2 separate regions of the Homo sapiens genome follow, and region 2 is linked to region 1. Evidence: promoter capture Hi-C in 16 types of primary human blood cells and fetal thymus (Javierre and others, 2016). All regions are on one chromosome and are shown on one strand. The core of a region is centred on a gene start or on the middle of the fragment in contact, and the rest is flanking DNA. Distances in the headings are between cores, read along the strand shown. Region 1 holds the start of LINC00466 (long intergenic non-protein coding RNA 466). Region 2 has its middle 5.7 kb from the start of NFIA.

What was found. The method cuts DNA at HindIII sites, captures the fragments that hold promoters and counts their contacts. A CHiCAGO score of 5 or more calls a contact.
Region 2: a contact is called between a fragment that was not itself captured here and the fragment with the promoter of LINC00466 in region 1, in 1 of 17 cell types (total B cells). The highest score is 5.3, in total B cells.

Annotation. Positions count from the first base shown.
Region 1 is chr1:63,314,058-63,320,706 of GRCh38, reverse strand. It overlaps LINC00466 (long intergenic non-protein coding RNA 466), which reads left to right and starts at 3,450. Exons shown (of 12, transcript NR_038252.3): 1 at 3,450-3,649; 2 at 4,620-4,758. RefSeq lists a silencer at 3,125-3,304. The HindIII fragment of the contact is 23,330 bases long and covers 1-6,649 here.
Region 2 is chr1:61,073,581-61,080,229 of GRCh38, reverse strand. It overlaps a transcript of NFIA not described here. Among named protein-coding and RNA genes, the nearest start is that of NFIA, 5.7 kb to the left of the region's middle. The HindIII fragment of the contact is 3,593 bases long and covers 2,147-5,739 here.

The DNA.
Region 1 (6,649 bases), core at 2,201-4,700:
TTGCACACGGCCCTAAAACGCATCTCAGAGTTGATTTCCGTAGCTCCACAGCTTTGTGGCCCGCAGGCTCCGAACCGTTTACAATGCCGTCTAGACAGCTTTCCGCGAAACCGACCCGAGCTGAGCTGGCTGGCCATCGCCCAGGACTGCAGAGGTCGCGTCTGCAACTGCCTCAGCAACCGAAGTGTCGGAAGGTCCAAAAAAAAAAAAAAAAAAAGCTAAAAAGCGGAAATTTACACATTCAGGAACCTCCTTTGCTCTGCTTGGGTTGCCCAGCCCTAAAGGCAGGGGCCCGGGGCGCAGCGCTGGCCCTGCCGCGGCCTTGGTGGCTGGGCCCGCGTGGACTAGTATGTGTGGATGCGCGCCGGAGGATGGTGGCTACAGGGCTCCCCTCACCGGTCTCGAAGTAGTCTCCAAATGAGCCTAATTTCGATTCCGCCGTCCGCAGAGGCTAGCTCTCTGGACTCCCTCCACGCTGCTGGTCGCTGCCTCCTACCCTCCCTCTGCCACGGCCCAGCCTGATCCGTCCATTCCCCGGTGTCTCCTTGGAACCTCCCTGGGGAAGGGGGTGGAGGACGAACAACTCCCAGCTGCCGGTTCCATTTGTTGCGCTTTTTTCCTTCGACACAATAAAAGTCAAATTAATTGATTCATACCATTAATTACGGCGCGTAGCGTGAAAAGCAACGCTTCCCCTCGGTTAGAGATCTATTGTGCTAATCTCTTGTTCAATCAGTGTTACCATCTGATGCTGGGTCCGGCCCTTACAGAAACTTTTCGACTCGATTAGCTAAATGATGAGACGTGCACAACCTACTGGCTGCGGCCCCGACGTCCCGCGCCCGCGCCGGCCTAATATCGATTTCCAGCGGAGGCAGAGGATTTTTCCGCGGCCGCTCTCGGCTCAGGAACCGGCCGCCGGCTTTCTCCCTCCAGGCGGACCATAGCGCCTGCACAACCTCCGGGGGCGGGAAGGAGGCGAAGCGGCGGCCGGGGAGGGCGACAGGAAGGTTCCTGCTGGCCTTGACGCAGGAGGCCGCCCCAGCGGAAGGGTCCGATCCCGACGCGGTGCAGGGTCCTGCCGGAGACCGGCTAGATGTCGGGCTAAATAAATTGTTTGCCGCGTAGTTGCAGTTTGCAGCTAAAAGCTCACAGGTCGTCAGTTACCGCCAAGCTGTAGGACAGAGACGGAAGAAGCGAGACAGATACAGAGAGAAAGTGAGACACATGTAGTGGGGGGAAGAAAATGTGATAAAGGGTGTATGTGGATAAAAAGTTTCTGAGTCTCAAAGGGTTATTGGAGAGATAGAGGGAGAATGAGTAGACACACACACGCAATTATGAGTTTGAGTGACTCTTTGAGTCTCAACAAGCGAACTTCCCAGGAGAGATTTAAAAAGGAAGATGGCAGCCAGCTGCCTCACCTGCTCAAATGTTTGAAATGTTTCAACCAAAGGAGAATGGAATGAAACCCCTTCGGTTCCTCTGGAGCGGGCAGAGTACATGGTACCCCGCTGGGAAAGCCACCTGGACGCGGTGGGAATGAGGGGTGCGGGGAGTGGGGATCTAGGTTCTAGCAACAGGAGGCAAGAAGAATGGAGTCCGGATCGATAGGAAGGAAATTGAGACGTCTCCAGGGGAGGGGAGATTTAGTGTGTGCGTCCAGTGGGGGGATGGGGGGGAAGAAATGGATAGAAAAATTTATGATGGAGAAAGGGAAATTAATTACAGCTCATTTTGGGTTCTTAGGTGGTCAACACTGGAGGAGGGGCACGGTTAGAGTGCGGAAGGCGGGAATTGCCCACCTACCCCTCACCAGGCCCAAGTGAACCCATATGCCTCTTTTCTCCTCTTTTAAGTCAGAGACAGTGCCAGTGGCTTGAATAAGTCGTTGGCGCGATGTGAGATAGAATCATCATGCCCGCGCGCGGGTGCACTTTTCTTACAATACGGGGAGTTGGGACCAGGTTCCGCGGAGTGAAGGGCGCGTCCCCCACCAAGAGTAGTTACTCTTTGTCCAAGAGGGAGCAAAACGTGGGTGGGACTATTAGAAAAATTCCCCTCCTTTCTCCCCAACACCCCCGCGCCCGCAACAATCAAAGTCTGCTGCTTCTTGAAAATCTTCATAGATTTGTTAAACTATTACCGGCCTCTTTGTCTGGATGGCCGCCACCAAGGAAGGTGGGAAAGGGCAGAGGTGGTACCCAAGGCCCCAACCCACCCAGATTACTTCCATTTCCCAAAGCGGGGGATTTTCAACTCTCTTACCCACCACTACCCCCTTGTATACCTCTCCGGATCTTTTCGGGGTGGAAAAAAAGAGGCTATTTTAATGTTCTTGTTTGGATTTGCATCTCAAAACTTCATTTATTTTCAAGATGTCTGCCACTCAGGGTCCACGCCAAGGCGTGCCTGTAAATGGCGAGAGACCAAAAGGAAAGGAGGAGAGAAAGAGGAAGAGAGAGAGGATGGTTTCGAATTTATTTATATTGGAAATATATAAACATCCATTCTGTAAAAGGCAACACGTTTAATTAACGATGAGAGAGCAGTTAGGGGCAGAAAGCTAGTAAAATTGTGTGATAAATTTATGGCATTGTTAGCGTGCTTTTAATTATGGCTATTATGTTAATTATTTCACATTAGCATGGAGTTATCAGCAGCATGTCGGATTTAATAAAAACGAGCCTTTCTCTCGAAAATTGTTCTTTTCATCCACGAGGAGAAAGGTCCTGGACAGGATCGGGGCTTAAAAATGACTTGGCATTGAAAGCCGGAGTCTTTCTGACACCGTTTGGAGCGATGCGGCCAGGCCCGGCTGTCCGCTGGGTCCCTCCAGGCTACCGGCAGCTCGAGGAGGAGCCCAGGGCTGGGTTTTTAGGAATTCACCATTTTCACCCCCTTCGGAGCCGACACTTCATCATGCGAGATCATTCTGTCAAACAATATGATGCTGCTCATTTTTATCTGTCCCGCTTTACAAAATCCCCATTCAGCCGGCCGAGGAGCAACAAAAGCCTCTGAGCAGCTCCGCAGCCACTGGCGGCCACAGCCTCCCCGGCGCGCGAGAAAGGCGAGAGGGGCCGAGGAAAGCAGGCGGCGGGCGCGCGCCCCTCTCCGCCGGAGGGAACGCTGCCTGCCGGGGCCTGCCAGCCCAGGTGTCGGGTCCTCGGGTGTGGCCCGGGCGGGACACGCCTCCCTCAGGCCCGCGCCCGCCCTCGGCCTCCCTGCAGGCGCCGGGCGAAAGCCCCCAATCCCTCCCCTCAAGCGACTCGCCCACCCAGGCCACATCGATTCTTTAATCACCGCCGATCGATTTATTGGGAGCAAATAAATAGACCGTTTTGGAAACGTTTCAATTGCTGGCTTGACGGTTGGGGCGCTGACGCGGGAGGGCGGGCAGGGCCGTGGGGCGCGCGCGGGAAGGGACTTGTGGGAAGGAAGGGAGCGGAAAGGCCGAGCGCCACCCGCCCCGGGAGTCTCCAGAGCAGCGCGCGGGGCAGACCTCCTCGGGTCCTCCGGCGCTTCGGTCTCCGGAGACGCCCGGCCTCCTGAAGGGTTCGGCTTGTCCTCCTCTGGCGCTCAGCTCCCTCTGGCGGCCGGGCTGGCAGGACCTCAGCGCCCAGCCCTTCCGTCTTGTTACGTCCAGGCAAGTTGGCCTGGCTTTCGGATGCCTCTGGACAGTCCCCGTCCAGGCCCGCGACCCAGCCCGAATGGAGGCCCCGGGGCCCACAGAGCGCGGCCTCCCAGGCCTTCCAGCCCTGGCTGCGGACGCCGCAGCCTTCTCGCCCCTGGGCCGGACGCGGCCTTCCTGCCCAAGACCACTGGGGCCCCCGCCCCTCCCGGGACAGGGCTGTGGACAGGCCAGCTGCTGCCTTATTTTTAGCGCCATTCCATTCGCGCGGTTATATTTAACTCGACCCACTCCTCCGAGGAGGTCGCTCGGACATCGAATTCTCCACATCGCAGCTTGGGCCTGCCCGCCTTGCCTCAGGGGTAGTTCCTCAAGGGACAGATTGGAAAACCCCTGCTTAAGAATCCTTGACATATCTGGAGCTTGGAGAGGACGGGACTGGGGGAGAGATCTGGTTCTAGGGGCAGTGGCCACCGCGCCTGCAGTGCACTGCGTGGGGATTCCGCCTTGTGTGGGGCGGGGGAGGGGAGGAAGGGACAGGATCAGTCCTGTGGGAAGGATTCTCTGCGGGGAGTATTGTGTCCATTTCCTACTTCTGCATGACTCAGAACACTAGGTGACCTGGAAGACCTCTCACGACCCTGCCCTTGGAAAAGTTTATCATTTAGCGTGAGTGCAGGAATCCCCTCTTCTCTACCCTCCAGTGCACCCAACGGGATATTTGATTTCAATGGTATGTTAGCTCCTTAGTTCCAGCCCAGTCTTCCCTTGGCAAAATCTTAAAAAGACCATGCCAAAGGCTCACTCACATCCTGGGGAAAGGACCCACTTGGATAACATACGGAAACACCATTGTGATACACGCTTTATTCACACAGAATGTCAGTTAGCAAACAATGCAGAAGTCATGTACTAAAGGTACACTAACAGATGTGACATGGATCGCGGATATCGAAACACATTTTTTTGTTTTTCTTTGAGACAGGGTCTCACTCTGTGTCTCAGGCTGGAGTACAGTGGTGCAATTGTAGATGGCTGCAGCCCTCGACCTCCTGGGCTCAAGTGATCCTCCTGCCTTAGCCTCTCGAGTAGCTGGGAGTACAGATGCACACCACCACACCCAGGTAATTTTTTATTTTTATTTTTTGTAGAGATGGGATCTCGCTCTGTTGCCCAGGCTAGTCTCAAGCTCTTGGCCTCAAACGATCCTCCCACCTCAGCCTCTCAAAGTGCTGGGATTAAAGGTGTGAACCATCCTGCCAGGCCAAAACACATTTTAAAAATTTAAATTCTTCTAACATTTTTAAAGAAACAAGTTTTCCTTGGGTCAAAGCTGCCTTTTTTGGTAACTCTCATTTTAATCCAAAATTTCTTGGATTTAAGTCATACCCACAGCTGAATTCAGGGGGAGAGGATATATAAGTATACAATATATATTTATTTACTCATTTATTCCTTATTAGTAATTTATTGAACTGTTGTAGACCTGGAAAGTACCAGGAATGAAAAGAAGAATTAAACCCAAGGTTCCTTAAGGAAGAACCAGGCAAGAGAATCAGTGTTTGTCATGCAGGTTGATAGGTGCCATGGCAAGGGGAAACAGCGCAGAGGAGGGCCTTTCTCACTGGGTAGGGATAGAGAAAGTGTGAAGCCTTCAATACGGAAGATGCTACTGACCAGCTACCTCTGACTTTAGGGGTTTTCAGGGGAGATTGGGGAGAAGTAAGTTAGAACCCGGGATACTTTGGGAAAAGAAAGTGCTAAGTTGGATGCCTAATGGTACTTCTGGACAGCCAGAAAGTACTTGGTCTCAAGGGAAATGGACAATAGATGTATGATAAGGAAACAGAAAGGGATGGAAGAAGAGAGAAGGGAAATGTAAAAATTGAAATTTGCTTAGACATTTTGTCTAGGTATAGTACATTTAGACTACATGGAAGTATTTGACTAACAAACACATGGAAGAAATTTAAAAGGGAACGTAGATAAAGGAAAAGATCCTTTGAAAAGAAAATATTCAAAAGGCTAGTTGTTAGACCCAGCTGTTTTTCTAACCTTATCGTATTCATCAAGGGCCAGACACTGGAACCACAAAGGTGAGTAAGAAGATAGATTCCACCTTTAGAATGTTAATTCCAGAAGGGCAGGAATTTTTATCTGTTCACTGTTGTATCCCTAGCCTCCAGCCAAGTACTAGTGGTGTAGGGGTGGAGGTGTGGCTCAATAAATATTGCTTGAATAACCCGATCAGTAAGACACATTCTCACTCTAATGGGGGACTTATTCAGGGAAGTCCATAGCTAAAATGTAGTGTGATGAGTTATAAATATATGATAGAATGTTACAGGAGCGCAAAAGAAACATAACTAACTCTGCCTGGGAAAGAGAATAGGTGGGTAGGAAGGTTTCCCTAAGAAATAATACTTGAACTGTCCGGCGCGGTGGCTCACGCTTGTAATCCCAGCACTTTAGGAGGCCGAGGCGGGCGGGTCACGAGGTCAGGAGATCGAGACCACAGTGAAACCCCGTCTCTACTGAAAATACAAAAAATTAGCCGGGCGTGGTGGCCGGCGCCTGTAGTCCCAGCTATTCGGGAGGCTGAGGCAGGAGAATGGCGTGAACCCGGGGGGCGGAGCTTGCAGTGAGCAGAGATTGCCCCAATGCACTCCAGCCTGGGCTACAGAGCGAGACTCCGTCTCAAAAAAAAAAAAGGAAATAATATTTGAGCTGTTGTGAATGATAAGCAGCAGTTAGGTAAAGAAAAAGAGGAACAGAGTTCTGGGAAAAGAAAGAGAACACAGCACGAGTAAAGACACAGATTTATGCAAGACACGAGGAGCAGCATATAGTTTGGTTTAACTGAAATGAGATAAGGGAATGGCCAGAGTAAAATAATAAAGACTCTTGAATACTGGGCTGAAGAGCCCAAAGTTATTAAGAAGCCAGTAAAGTCTTTAACTGATTGGCATGATTGAAATAAAATTTTGGAACTATTCTTTGCGGGAATGTGAAGGA
Region 2 (6,649 bases), core at 2,694-5,193, 2.2 Mb after region 1:
CAGTGGATGTGCCCCGCGATTTCCAGCTTTCTGCGGTTAGCAATATTATCTTAAGTAACTTTTGGCGCCCTTCGTAAGACTTTTGGATATGGGACGATTGTTTGCGCCCTCTAGGCAAGGGCTGGATCCAAGTTCAGCACCAAAGCCCTTCACATCCGCTCCTGCTTTCTCTCCTATCTCCGCCAGCTCCCGCTCCCTCCCCCGCGGAGGGAGGGGGGGAGGCGGGGGAACACTACAAAGCACAGTTCCAACTACAGCCTTTGGAAACAAGACTGAGAAAAATACAGTAGAAGAGTTACAGTTACAGAAAGGCTTCTGGTAACTTTCTCTCCAACAGGCATAAATTTAAACACACGCACAAAGAAACAGATGTTCCTCAAAGGGCAGACTGGGGGTAAAAAACATTTCCAACCCTCTCCCCTCTTCCCAAGTTGCAAAAGTAAATCCTTGTCCAGAGTTCACAAAGATACTAAGGCACTTGAGAGAGAGCAGGGATGGAGGAGGAGGGAAGAAAGAAAGGATAGTAGAGAGAGCAGTGGAGGAAACGCAGGTGAAGTATGGAAACTAGTTCACTGCAATCATATAAATGACCCATTGTTAGGAAGGATAAACCCCTTATTGGAAATAACCTCTCCAATCATTTATTTTCCAAGTGGTAGGAGGCTGCCTTGAAATGGGATTGTCTCTGCGCAAAGGAGGCTCCTGTCATGCTCTCTGCTATCCATATTCTTCCTGGCACAGAGCCCAGCCTTGCATTTACTGTGTTTTATTTGCAGAAACGTTACCTTGCCAGCTTTAGTGAAATCCTCTTAGATATATAAATTACGTCAATAAGGTTTCACTTATATGTACATCTCAAATAGCTCTCATTTTGGAGGTTACTTAATAGGGAGATCTTATTAATATGATTTAGATTTTAATACCCAAAGCAGTGAAGATAGGACTGGGATTCATAAGCGACAACACCATAACTCTGTAGTTCTTACCAAAACTAACTTTATTAACTGGCATTTTTCAACATTTTTTCTTCTCTGGTTTTTGACCTGCTGGTCACTTCTGTGCAGATTTTTCTTATGTGCATATAATCCTAAATTGAATCATGTTGCTGAAGTGAGTGTCCAAGTGAATTCTTACATCAAATTTCCAAGCCAGATTTGACTGGAAGGCCTAAAGCCTTGGGAAATAGCTCGATGGGAATTTAATCCAAAGAAGGGAAAGAGCCCATATTATTTTCCATTCACTTCCCAACAGAATTGGGTGTCTACGCTGCTCAGAGAGGAGGAGATGGAGATATTTTAGTCAGAGGCTGCCAGTTACTGTCTCCAAGACAAGCTACTGCAGTTGGTTTCCACTGGATTTGTATCAAGCACTTGTCCAAGAGGCCAGACTCCAACTAACAGTTAGCAAGTCAGCGATCTTCCATACACTCTCCACGGGGGTTGTTGTGGTAACAAGGAGAAACGTGAACTTGGCCAGTCTTAACGTCCTATTTCCTACTGACCATATACTTAAAAAGCAGAATTCAAGAATAGCCAAGAAAAAACACTCCCCTAATTTCTTTCAAGTGTGTAAGACAGCTGCTAGTCCACATGTGAAACATTCTCTCCTTTAAAACTGTTGTTTAGAGTTCAAGAAGAGAGGTTTACCTATTAATTTCAAAGTACTTGAAATGCCAAAGCTTCTAAGATAATCAGAGTAAGAAGTTTTGTAATGCTGAATACGCAATATATTACTTCCCAAAGCTCACTACAGTCCCACAATTCAGGCAAGATTTAAGCCACACGTTTCTTAAAGTTGAACTTCACATTCCACAAGTTACCAGCTTCCCTGAGCATAAAAATAATAGCTAATGCAAAGTTAATAACAATACAAAGTTATTTCTCTAGCAGAATGTTTCTTTTTCCAAAAGACAAGGAAGAAGGCACACGATTCATGCAAAACTCCCCCGATCAGCTTTTTTTTTTTTCTTAAACGCGAAAATTCTTTCCTATTGTGCTTGCTAAATCCGGAAGCGCTTGTAGCTTTGACAGCTTGAACCACACCATCCCCTTCAGAGCTGCAGAGAACTTCAGATCTCCTCTGCCCCGCCCCCTCTGGCTATTGAGAACTATTGTACACCCAAGCTTCCTTATGATTGGATAAAGCTTTTGTCAATCTCCCAAGTTGTCCCATTGATTAGAGGATCAAATCGTCAATTATTCTCCGGGTCCAGACATTTCTTTTCGGGTTAGGTTGACTGCTGAGGCCAGACGTCTTTTACAGAACAGAGCACGTACAGGATTTCCCCCCACCCCTTTCTGGAACCGAGCAAGCGCTAGGAGGAAAAAAAAATCTGTCAAGCTCAGCAATTTTTTCAAATCCCGAAAAAAAAAAAAAAGAAAAAGAAAACCCGGTCTCTGATGCACATAGCAAAAACACCATCAACAAAGCTACATCTTTAAAACAAAACCATCACAATAGACATTTACCCAGCAATCACTTAAGTGCATATGCGAGCTAGAGAAATTTTAGTCTTAGCCATTAAACAAAATCATTCTACCATTGTTTATAAAACGCATATCATATAAATGCAAAATAGAAAGTTTAAGATGTACCACGTACCATTGCAATGTAAAAAGAGTACGTGAGAAACTTTAAAATGCTCAGACGAATTGCTTCATTTGTTGTCCCCTTTTTTTTGCATTTAAAAAATATCTAAATAAACTTGGAACCGTTGAAAACCCGGAAGAGATTTTTTAAAAAGCTGTTGGCCAATTGCAGGCTTCTTGGAGAATTTTTTTTTTAACTCCAAATCAGAAGGCTTTTGCAATTGCAAGGCGCGCTCTCTCCCTCTCTCACTGTCTCGCTCTCGCTCGCTCGCTCGCTCGCTCTCACTCTCTCTTTTGAAAGCGATCCAACCCGGGCTGGCTGGTTCTCAGATTCGCTCTGGTTTTGCCTTGCGTGCTTTGGATTGTACGAGACTTTGCAGAAGTTGCAATCGATTCGGCAGTCCCTCTCTCCTCTCCCAACTCCCTTGTTTATTTCCGCAATCGCTGCAATTTGCATAGTAACCACGCACGAGGTACCGGCGGCAGCCTGCGGCGGAGGGGGCAGGGAGGGGGCAGGGAAAAGGCCTTGCCCCCTTCTCCCCTCCTCCAGTCTGTCTCCCCGCCAGTCGTCTCCTCCCCTACGGCGCGTGGCCAATAGGAGCCCCTACATTCGGCGCAAGCTCCGGTCTGGACACCGTTCTGAAGAAAAGCCCCTGTGTTACTAGGCCCGGCTCTCGGAATCGTTCTGTTGGCGCAGTACAAGTTCCCCTGCTTGCGCACCTCGCAGCCGGTACTGGGCAACGTGAGGATAAAGTACCTTTGCCTGCGGTTGTGCGGGTTTTGCACCTTTTAATCAAGTCTGCACACCTGCTCTCTCGGTTTCTTTTTCCAGGGCCTCTCGTGAGTTATTAGGCTAGTTCATGATGGTTAGTGAGAGATTTAACCTTTATTTGCACTAGTGTAGACCAAGAGTTAAAGATCCTCTTTGGTGCATTAAATCAAGAGAGTGCAAAATGTCACAGGGAACTTGCAGTGAAATAAAGCGTCTACCCTAGGTTAGGAAAGAAAAAGACAGTGGCTCTATTCTCTGCAGATGACTGAACATAAAATTGTTAGGTGGGCTCCCTCAAGAATAAAGCTGTTCTTTTAAGGCAGGAGATACGGTGAAATTCTAATTTAATTGCCAAGCATCTAATTTGTCAATATCCTTACAAAACCTGGGTTCCACAAAATTAAAGGAGACCCCTCCCCTTCCTACTCCCCTAAGAGAAGAGCTGTAAGAGTTTTGACATTTAAAAGGGGGGTTTTAAAAGATAATTATTGGAACATTAAGTCCTTCATCTCACTGACTCACCTTATTTCATTAACCCAGACTCTTTAAGACCATGTAGTCTGGATATTTCAATGTCAACAGTTTAAGTGTTTGTTTTAAACAACAAAATAGCCATTGGTGCAGAGCAAGGAAATAAGACTCTGAAGGGAGGGAGTTATCTCTTTAAATGGAAAGCACACAACCAGGCTACTGCGGTTTTCGTTGTTGTTTTTAAAAATGTGATTGCTGGCTGGGCACGGTCGCTCACGCCTGTAATCCCAACACTTTGGGAGGCCGAGGTGGGCGGATCACAAGGTCAGGAGATCGAGACCATCCTGCCCAACATGGTGAAACCCCGTCTCTACCAAAATTACAAAAATTAGCCGGGTGTGGTGGCGCGTGCCTGTAATCCCAGTTACTTGGGAGGCTGAGGCACGAGAATCGCTTGAACCCAGCAGGCGGAGGTTGCAGTGAGCCAAGATCACACCACTGCACTCCAGCCTGGTGACAGAGCGAGACTCTGTCTCAAAAAAAAAAAATTGTGTTTGCTTTGAGTCAGTTAAGGAGCATAGGACATTTTGCTGAATAACTTAGAGGAAAACGTGTGCTTACCTGGCTTGATTAAAAGTATCCAGTAAGAAGTCAAGAGTAATAGGAAGCAACCTGGCAGTTGTCTGATTTTCTTAACTGTCCTTGGTGAAGGTACCTAATTAATTAATAACAGGACCTTGCATAGTTAAATTGGAGGTTAGAGAAACCTCATATTTTATGTTGAATCACATTTTTTGCTTCGGTCTTGCTCTCTACAACTAGTCGACTGATGTAGCCGTACTGTGGCTGGCCTTGGCATTAGCTTTGCTGTTCTGGTCTGCCCCTCATAGATGCAGATATGCTCTTGGCTGTAGCAAGCCTGTGGCATTTAATCCTAGCCTCCTCCACTGAGCATCCATTTCCACTTGGTGTACTACTCTCACCTAGAAATACACTTGATGTGATGTAGCGGCTTCAGTTTAAATAAAAAATAATACTTTGGGAGGCCGAGGCAGGTGGATCACCAGGTCAGGATCTCGAGACCAGCCTGGCCAACATGGTGAAACCCCGTCTCTACTAAAAATACAATAATAATAATAATAACAATTTTTTTAAGTAACCAAAAAAAAAAGTTTTGGGCCTGGTTTAGCTGGTACTAGACTGTGTGACCTTGAGATGGTTACATAACACCTGTAAAACAAGACATCAACCTATTGTGAGAGTGGAAGGTTTTGTCAAAAGGTAAGAACCGTTGAGATGCAGAAGAGGTGTCAACCTGTACTGCATTGCTCTGTAGATACTATGGTCTGAATAATCTCTGATGCTAAGCAGGCCAGGCCTTGTAAGTAGGTGGTAACAGTGAATTTTGTGTGCATTGTCTGTAGTGCATTAACTCAGTTTGATATGGTAGGTTGGCACCATTTCCAAAGTGACCTTTTATATCTCCATCTAGTCAACAACAACATAGCATTGACAACATAGCATTGGCTTCAGAGTCCAACTTAGGTTTTTTTTTTTGGACAGAGTTTTTGCTCTTGTTGCCCAGGCTGGAGTGCAGTGCTGCGATCTCGGCTCACTGCAACCTCTGCCTCCTGGGTTCAAGTGATTCTCCTGCCTCAGCCTCCTCAGTAGTTGGGACTACAGGCACCCGCCACCATGCCTGGCTAATTTTTGTATTTTTAATAGAGACCGGGTTTCACCATGTTGGGCAGGATGGTCTCAATCTCCTGACCTTGTGATCCGCCCACCTCGGCCTCCCAAAGTGCTGGGATTACAGGTGTGAACCACCAAGCCTGGCCTCAACTTAGGTTTTAATGTTGGTTCTACCATGTGTATTTTTTTTTTTTTCAGGCAAAACCTCTGCAAGCTTTAGATTTCTGATCTGGAAAATGGGAGATAGATAACATATGTAAATTAACTAGTACATTATGTGTGCTCAATATAGGCTCATTGAAGGTGCTAAGAGCTAGGGATACAGCAAAGAATGAGACATTATCCCTGCCTCTAACAAGCTTTCAGTGCAATGGGGTAGATAAGACATAAAGCTAACTAATAGTGTAATGTAATAAGCGTTATGTCCAACATATATATATATATATATATACACACATATATATGTATAAAATGGGCAGTGGTGATAGAATGATTCATTTTGTCTGGGTCATTAAGGCAGAGACAGTCATTAAGGCCTAAAAAAGAGACATTTGTGTTGGGACAGAAATATGCATTAGTCAGGTAGACAGGTGAGGGGCAGGGCATTCCTCTCCAGGAAAACGCAATGATGTCAGTGTATGCAACAGGCCAAAGAATGGGGATGTATTCAATTGTGGCTAGTTGTCTAGTTAGGATTAGCTTGTATAGTCATGTGTCACTTCATGACAGGGATACATTCTGAGAAATACGTTGTTAGGCGATTTAGTCGTTGTAAGAACATCGTAGAGTATACTTGCAGAAACCTAGATGGTATAACCTTATACACACCTAGGCTATGTGGTATAGCTTATTGCTCCTAGGCTCAGCTCTGTACAGCAGGTTACTCTACTGAATATTATAGGCTACTGTAACACAATGGTAAGCATTCCTATATCTAAACATAGAAAAGGTACAATAAAAATACAGTATTATATAATCTTATAGGACCACCATTGTATCTGTGGTCTCTCATTGACTGAAACGTCCTTAGGCGGCACTGGACAGTATTACTGTAACTAGAGATGACCTTAGAAAGGCAGGCAGAGCCAAGGTGGTGGAGAGCATTGTGAACCCTTTGAACCTTCAC